2 separate regions of the Homo sapiens genome follow, and region 2 is linked to region 1. Evidence: promoter capture Hi-C in human tissues and cell types (Jung and others, 2019). All regions are on one chromosome and are shown on one strand. The core of a region is centred on a gene start or on the middle of the fragment in contact, and the rest is flanking DNA. Distances in the headings are between cores, read along the strand shown. Region 1 holds the start of COL6A3 (collagen type VI alpha 3 chain). Region 2 overlaps LRRFIP1 (LRR binding FLII interacting protein 1).

Region 1 (4,311 bases), core at 558-3,057:
AGTGAGCCCAAAGCAGTTTTCCCAACGAGATGTGAGTTATTTGGGATCCTCCGTCACTGGCTTGTCTGCTCTCCTTCAATGGGGAAGGATTTCACTGCCATCTCAGGCACTCGCTCCCTGGCCTGGGCAAGGAATTCCGCATCTCAGAGCCCCTGGTTGCTCATTTTGAAAACCAGGAAACTACTGCATCAGTGGCTTCTGACCAAAAATCTCTTCCATTATCTTTAGCCCAACAAAAACCTCAGAAGTCCCAGTAATGTCATCAACGGCCACCCACTCAGTTTTCAATATAGTTTTGCTTAGGAGCAATGTAACTTTGATTTTAAAGCCATTTCGGTTGTTTTTTACAGCATTAAGAATGGGACCCTGGGGAGCTGGGGGATCCCAGGTTGAGCATCCACCATCCCCGTGAGCTCTGAGCACCCTGCAGCTCTAGCACCCTGTGGTCCTCGCCGGGGTGAGCTGTATGTGGGGAGAGAAGCCAGTCAGCCGGGGCCACAGCCCTGCCTCCCCATCCAGCACAGCAGACTCCCCTGTGCTCAGAGGGGTTTGCTCCTGGGGTCTGCACCGGCCTCGAAACTGGCTCCTGGGGCTTCCTGTGGAAGCAGATTTTTCTTTAACCACTCCCTAGTCCCTCCCAGTGACCCCACCCATACTTCAATACCCGTTCATTATCCAACATAGTAGGCCCCTTGAAACAGGTTCCCCAAACAGGCTGGCCACTGTCAGCGAACGTGTCCATCCTCAGCAAGAGAGGGCCCGAGCCCCACCCTGCATCCTCCGGGCCAGAGAACAGCCCTCGGGGCCTCCCAGCTCGGCACTGGCCTCACCTCTGTGCAGCATGGGCTGGCCCTGCAGCCCCAGGGGCCCTGCCTTAGACACTCAGCATGCTGCCCAAATGCCCAATTCCTTCTTCTCCTCTGACCCCTGCAACTCCTTTAAGCAACCCCAAGGGACAAAGTCTCCAATAGAGACTTCAGGTTCCTGGAAAGACGAAAGCTTGACGGCAATGACTGAGCGACCCTTTACTTGGCCCTGATCCTGAGCACCAGAGTTACTCCAATCTTGTGAAAGCAGCAAATGTGCTCCACCAGGACCTTCCCATGGGCGGCCCTGGGCAGAAAACCCATGCAGGTTGTTGCACCCTGACCTAGTGTCACCACCCAGAGAGCTCAGAGAACATCTCCCAGCGGAGCCGCCCGGCAGGGAGCTATGCTAGTCCTCAGCAAAGACGCTTCTGCAAACAAAGCGGATCCCGAATGGGTTTTAGAAGGCGGCAGTAACTTAAATAAATCATGGGCCGAAACACACTGCCGCCCGGAATGCACAGGGCGCGTGTAGCAGCCACAGACACGCGGTGGAAAAGTGCTCACACTCTTAGGCAATCATGACCTTAACCAATTTAAGGAAATCCCATTGCCATAAAGTGAGAAAGAAAAATCAGCGGAATCTTCCAGAGACCTAAAACATGTACAGAAAACTGGCGATCAGCATGAACGTAAGAGCCACTAACGCTACCTAGAAAGGATCACTTCAGGTTAAGAGCATTTCCTTCTAGCCCCAAACCTGGAAAAACAGAAGAGAAATCACACTTACCCCTGAGCAAACCTGAAGGCGTGTGTCCCTGGGCTCCTCGATTCAATTAGGTTTGAATAGGATGCATACTTTTCCCACTCACTGCGTCTCTTTTTCTTTTTGCAGCCTTTCTCCACCAAAAAAGTGGAGACTCAGAGCTGCGGAGGAAAACTCTTGCAGTCCTTGCAGGAGGCTGGAGCCCAGGAGAACTGAACGGCCTTTGGTGGAAGACTGAGCTCCAAACTGGACTGGGGCCAGGGATACCAGTCAGGGCTTCCTCCAGCTCCTCCTCCTCCTCCTCCTCCCTCCCGGACCCCTCCTCTCCCCCTCCTCACTGCAGAACTGACCCAAAACTGTAAATGAAACCAGACTCCTCCACTCTGTTTCTTCTGGCCCCCGCTCAGGCTGATGTCACCCTCTGAATTCTGTCTTCACCCTACAAGCGTTTAGCTGGACTCCTGCAAGCCCCAACTCTTAAAAAAAAAAATTGACCACTCCTACTCGTCACCTTTTGGGCTGGGCCCTTGGCGTCAAAAAGAATAAATTTTGGAATTTCTTCGTGGGTATCCATGGTTTTCCTGCAATGTTTTCCAACACCATCTGAAAGGAAAACAGGAAATGCAGTCCCCCGCTTACCCTCACCACACCCTCCCATTTCTTCTTGAAGTTTCTGAATTGAGACTTCTACTAATAACTTCCCCCTTCAAATAGAAAAACCAGCAATTAAAATCGCCTTGGTTTTCTGTTAACCAAAGCTCTGTTCACCGGCAAAAAAAAGGAGGCTACATTTCTCTTAATTTCTATATCTAATGATTCTGATTGTGGCGCTTATAGGCCCATTCTAGGCACAGACGGGGTAATAAAAATGGTTATCTTGCCAAAGCTTCGGGAAAATACTTGAGTAAGAACTTCTGTTTCTAGAAAGCTTTGCACATTTCAAAACACTTCAATATACATTCTCTCCTTTATCACAAACATCAACACCCTAAGCCCTTTTAAATAGAAAGATGTCTTCTTTTATTAGGTGAAATTGTGGTCCCATTTTACAGATGAAAGAAACAGGCTGGGCACGGTGGCTTATGCCTGTAATCTCAGCACTTCGGGAGGCTAAGGCAGGCAGATCACAAGGTCAGGAGTTGGAGACCAGCCTGGCCAACATGGTGAAACCCCTACTAAATCTCTACTAAAAATATAAAAATTAGCCAGGCATGGTGGCAGGCGCTTGTAGTCCCAGCTATTTGGGAGGCTGAGGCAGGACAATTGCTTGAACCCAGGAGGCAGAGGTTGCAGTGAGCCGAGATGGCGCCACTGCACTCTAGCCTGGGCAACAGAGTGAGACTCCAAAAAAGAGAAAAAGGAAAGAAAGAAAAGAAATGAAAAGAAAAGAAGAGAAGAGAAGAGAAGAGAAGAGAAGAGAAGAGAAAAAAGAAAAAAAGAAAAGAAAAGAAGAAAAGAAAAGAAGTTCCGAGAGAGTAAGTGACATCGTCATTGTCCAGTCTGGGTTAGTAACAGAGCTCAAATGACAACCCAGCTTTGGCCATCCCCAAACTTCTCACTGCTCTCCCATCATGTGGTCCTTATGAAAAGTCCATTAATGTGAAATATCAAGAGACATCCGAAAGGTTCTTTTTGACTGAGAGATCCTTCCAAACCAAGTTTGAAGAGCAAAGAAATCATTAACTCCTTTCCATGGATTATCTCCCTCCAATTTAGGGAAGAAAGGAGACAGCACCCCAGAGAGAATGCCTGCTCCCCTCTGCAGCTCCAGGGCTCCCTTCCTCTCCCATAAAGAAGCCCAACCCATCTCTAAACCAAAGGGCTCACTTGCAGAGCACTGGAGTAGGGAACAAGGATGGAACCTGAATTATGGGGTTCTTAGGTGAAGACACGCTGAGCAGAGGCTCCGAGTATAGAACCGCGCTGCCTGCATGACATGTAGAAGGACAACACGCCCCTCCAGCGGCATCCAATTCTCTGCCCTCATCCTCTCTGCACAGTGCAGGCGTTGACTCAAGCCCCTACAGAGACCGGGGATACTTGCTGCCACCCCCTTGGTTAGAGTCTGCAACTTCAGCACTAAGGAGGACTATTTCTCCCAGAACATTGTCTGCTGCGAAGAAGACAATCTTTGATTACAACCCCATGCTCCAAGCAGCTCAGCAAACTGAGGTTAACTGAACAAGCACGTTTTAGGTGTTTCCACTCCACGGTTTCTTTCAAATACAAATACACTCTTTTTCGCAAAATCGCTAGGCAGATGCATTCCTTGGTATTGAAAGTTTCTATTACAGTCGACCTCGTATCCATGGGTTCTGCATCCATGGATTTAACCAACTGTGGTTCAAAAATGCTTTTTAAAGTAGATGATTGCATATATACTGAACATGTACAGATGTTTTTCCTTGTCATCATTCTCTAAATGACACAGTATAACAACTGTTTACATGGCATTTACACTGTATTAGGTATTATAAGTAATCTAGAGATGGCTTGAAGTACACAGAAGGATGTGCATAGGTTATGTGCAAATACTACACCACCTTCCTTCAGGGATTGGGGCCTCTGTGGATTTGGGTATCCATGGAGGTTCCTGGAATCAGTCCCCCATGGATACCAATGGATGGCTATATTTAAACAGCAAGGGCAAGAAATCATTTAGAACATGATTTAAAGAAATAAAAGCTCCCATTCAGTAGGAAACCATAATCTTTAATATTTAGCTGCACCTACTCATTG
Region 2 (4,311 bases), core at 1,112-3,611, 280 kb after region 1:
CTAAATGACCAGCACTGTCCCAAGAAAGGGCTGTTAGGGGAGAGCGTGGACACACAGTCTCCCAAGTCCCATCTCATTATAGGTACCTGGGCCAGGGTCCCCAGGTGTGGGAGAGTGGAGTCTTGACCAATATGGGGATGAATCAGTTGGCACGAGGCGGGCTGGCCCTGCTCTAGCTCAGTCTGAGATGGTGGAGCGTGGAATCATATGGTGTGTGTTTTAGGCATGTCATTTCCCCGGGCAGGTAAGACATAAATATAGTAAGGTAGGTCTTTTCTAGTAGTATTGAGAGTGTCCTACTGGGGCAAAGATGGAGACTAAATTTCCCTTTTTCTTTAAGAGTCAGTTTCTGTTCAGCCTGAGTTAATATCCCACAGCGGAAGCCTCCTTAGCAAATTTCAAAAAACCCTGCAGTCTCAACTGCCACTTATGCTGAGCACAGGAAATCAAGTTATTTATAGTTGCAGAACGGTGTTTCAGCGAAGTTGATTGGAGAGTTACCTGATTATAGTGAGATTCTTATCCAATCCCTACAGAATTGTGAGACTAAATGTTGGTGCAGCATGTTTGGTCCTCAAAAGGCAATGTCCAAGAGGAACTTCTTATCCCCGAAAAATCAGGCTGTGTGACTCAGCAAAGGAATTGTTTATGACTGGTTACTCATATGCCAGTGCTTCCAGAATATCTGCTCGTATTTAAAGGAGTGATCTTGAAGCCCCAGAGGCCATAATGTTTAGATTACCAACCTCTTCACCAATCAGTAAGTCCATTACATCTCACTACGTGTTAGACATGGGACAGGAGAAGAGGATTTTTATTACCTCACTGTTATTACTGGAGGCCGCCCAAATTTGTTTTTTGTTTTTTTTTTTTAAATAAAGAAGCTTGTTTTCATGGAATGGACTTACTAGAACTTTTATTATTCAGACTACCTAGATAAAATTAAGTAAATTCGTTTCTTTCTCCCAAATTAAATATTTTGACTACATGCAAGATTTAATCATTCAAAATTGCCATGTATTTGATTATAGACCAGTAGTATAATCCCCCTGCCCCAGGCCAGATTCCAAAACAATAAACCAAAACACACACACACCTGGCAACAGAAATTATATGTATTCCGAGACTCATTCATTCATTTTGGAAAGGGCCAGTGTTTCCAGTGGTTTCTCCTTGGGATTGTAACTTTACAACTTTAAAACTAGGTAAGTAGTTTTCCCTTGAATCTAAAGTATAACTACTTTGTAGTAGAGAAGTAATTTATCTTAAATCACTATAATGAAGATTTACTCTTAATTTTAACCAAAATGTTTCATTTATTTGTGTAATGAAGATGATCAAAGCAACGCCACCTGTGATCCTTCTGTCTTTTTTACTGTATGTGGCACGTGGCTGTGTGATTTTCCTAGGGAAAGGAGTGGGCTTTCCCTGTGGGTTGAGAACCTCTGTCCCCCTCCTCTGAAGTTTCCCCAGTTTTTCCTGCTTCTCTGCTAGGTGGGTGCCTTAGCATGCTTGTCTTCTCATCGTGCTTCTAAACTTCTCTGAACCGGATTTATACTCTTAGGTCAGTAGCTGTCAAAGAAGACACTAAGTAGTGAAAGTAGCTAATATTTACCAAACCCCTGCTGCGCCCACCTGGTGTTTTATGTGAAGGTCTTCTCTAACCCTTGCTGTAACCTCATGGGGAGCAGATCGTTTTCTCTCAGTTTTTCAGATAAAGAGGAAACTGAGGCTCAGAAAGGTCAGGGACTTTCCAAGCCCTCACAGCTAGTCAGCAGTGGAGCCAGTTCAGACCCAGGCCTGCTGACTCGGAACTGGTACTGATAACTGTCACCACTGTATGCAATGCTGCAGGCAGGGGCTGGCAGGTAGTAAATGTGCAAGATATAGCTGTGGCTGCCACGGCTGCTGCTGCTGCTTTTGTCGCTGTTGTCAGCTTTTCTTGGCAGCCCTGCTGTCTCATACCCCAGTATTGGGGCTGAAGGATTTCTTTTTACCAAAGCTGCCTCTTAGGACAGAAGTCCTTGTCTTGAATGCATACTGGGAAGTCTTCACTCTGTCAAACTTTTCTGTTCTCTGCCTGGTAATTTCCAGACAGAAGAGAACATTCAAAGAACGAACTTACTTTCCTTCTTTTTTTTTATTGAGACAGTCGTGCTTGATTGCCCAGGCTGGAATGCAATGGCACAATCTCAGCTCACTGCAACCTCCGTTTCCCAGGTGCAACCGATTCTCCTGCCTCAGACCTCTGAAGCAGCTGGGACTACAGGTGCCTGCCACCTCACCCGGCTAATTTTTGTATTTTTAGTAGAGATGGGGTTTCACCACATTGGCCGGGGTGGTCTCAAACTCCTGACCTCAAGTGATCCTCCCATCTCGGCCTCCCAAAGTGCTGGGATTACAGGCATGAGCCACCACACCCGGCCCAATGAGCTTTACTTTTCTACATAAGGAAAATAATGGTAGAAATGAAATAGCTGTGAAACTTGTTTTGCTATTTTTGTACCATGCTAAAATGTTAACTACTGCTTATGTCGGCATACACCTGAGAGCTGCTGTGATTTAAGCCTTTTTATTTTTCTGGGTATGATGTAACTCCTCCCCTACCTCATCCAAGTAGATAAGTTCATGGAGGATAAACATGACAGCTGCTGTTTCTTTTATAGCTGGTTCCAGGGAATATCCACTGAATATAGGAAAGATTGTCAGTTGCTGTGTGCTGCCCTGGTGCTGGTGGAGCTTTCAGCCTTCTTCTCAGAGGAAACAATTTAAATGTTTTTGTGAAACCCTAGAGGTCTGGGGTTTGTAGGACAGTCTTGAGCAGAGCAGGCAAAGGTGAAGGGAGTGGAGCCCAGACGTGCTGCCTGGAGGGAAACCTGTCACCTGGAGAGGAAACGGCACAGGGGAGGCCCAGCCGCCCTCGCCTCTCAGTCCCGCACGTCTCTGTTAGTGGTAGTCATGGTTCTTGTATTTCCATCATGTTGAGGCAATTGAAGGAAATATGAAGATTCATTCATCTCAGGAAAAGCAAGAAATGTATTAACAGCAAGAGTAGAAGTTCACTTGCATGGAAGATACTGTATAGCGTATTTATTTCTTAGCGCCAGTGGGAGTAGCTGCTAAGCCCAAGATTGTGTTGTGAGGTTTGAATAGGTCAATGTGTGAGTCATCAATAAAGTAACATCAATCATTTTGTTCCCGATTAATACGTTTGCTATTTTAGGATGCGAAGGACTTTAAAGAAGCTTATTATTCTGAAAAGCAAAGCCTGGAGATTTCCAGTAGCAAAACAGACACAGTCTGTGGACAATCTCAGTGTACAAATAATTCACCTCTGGCATGAACCCAAAGAATTTCAGAGGGGAAGGAAGCTCTTAAAGATTACGTCCCCTCCTACTTCTTTAATGAGGGCTGGGGTTCAAAAACCGAGTAACTTATCCAGGCTCACATAACTGTAGGTGACAGAGCCCAAGCTGGAGGCTGTGGCTGGGTCTTCAGACTCCTTTCTTGACAGTCTGCACCTGCATAAACTCAGACCTTTACTGAGAACAGTGCAGCCATAGCTGAGAGAAGCAGTCGGCACCCAGCATTTCTTGGACTTGTCTGCCAGGTCCCCCGAGTGCAGAGGACAGTGTGCTGGCTCCTGGGGCCTGTGGGCCCGGCCAGGAGCAGCCTTGTAAGCTAAAGCCTTCTTTGAAGGTGGCCGTCTTACCGTAAACTTTCATGGTAATTTCAGTCTACTCCATAATTTGTCTGAGTTAATTTTGATGGAAACATAGTGTTTTAAGTAATCAGTTAGGCTTTGATCTCTAACTTTATGCCATCCAAATCTTCATGATGGCCTGAGCACCAGGCACCCAGACCTGTGCTCTGAATTGTGCCGGGGCTGGTTCATACAGTGTGATGGAGAGACGAGAGATCCACACTGGAGTTCTGAAGCTGTGGTTCTCAACCCTGTCTTTTTACAAGTTCCTTAACTTCCTTACTAGCCTGAAATGAAATGCATAGGTGAGAAAGTCAACCAGCGCACATAATTTCGAGTCAATATAACATTTCCTTAAAAAATAAAATACAGGTAGTTTATAGTAACATAATAAGAATTTTGATATAGAAATACTCAAGACCAAGTACACCAGCAGTTGAATGCAGTGATGAGACCTGCACACACCTGTGCCTGGCGTCACAGGGAGGCTGACACAGGTGTGTTGCACTGAGACCCACACACCACCCCTCATGTTGCTGTCTATGACGTGACATTCTACAAAGTTGACTAACTCTCAGGAAAGTTCTGAACAAAGCCAAGTATCATCA

The links. Contacts are between HindIII fragments. The study calls those that stand out against the background at their distance.
Region 2: a fragment that was not itself captured here is called in contact with the fragment with the promoter of COL6A3 in region 1 in 1 of the 25 tissues and cell types used here (IMR-90 fibroblasts).

The regions. Positions count from the first base shown.
Region 1 is chr2:237,412,357-237,416,667 of GRCh38, forward strand. It overlaps COL6A3 (collagen type VI alpha 3 chain), which reads right to left and starts at 1,808. Exons shown (of 44, transcript NM_004369.4): 1 at 1,597-1,808. The HindIII fragment of the contact is 4,662 bases long and covers 60-4,311 here.
Region 2 is chr2:237,694,897-237,699,207 of GRCh38, forward strand. All of the region lies in intron 1 of LRRFIP1 (LRR binding FLII interacting protein 1), which reads left to right. Among named protein-coding and RNA genes, the nearest start is that of LRRFIP1, 69 kb to the left of the region's middle. RefSeq lists an enhancer at 2,188-2,397 and a silencer at 3,461-3,510. The HindIII fragment of the contact is 4,703 bases long and covers 11-4,311 here.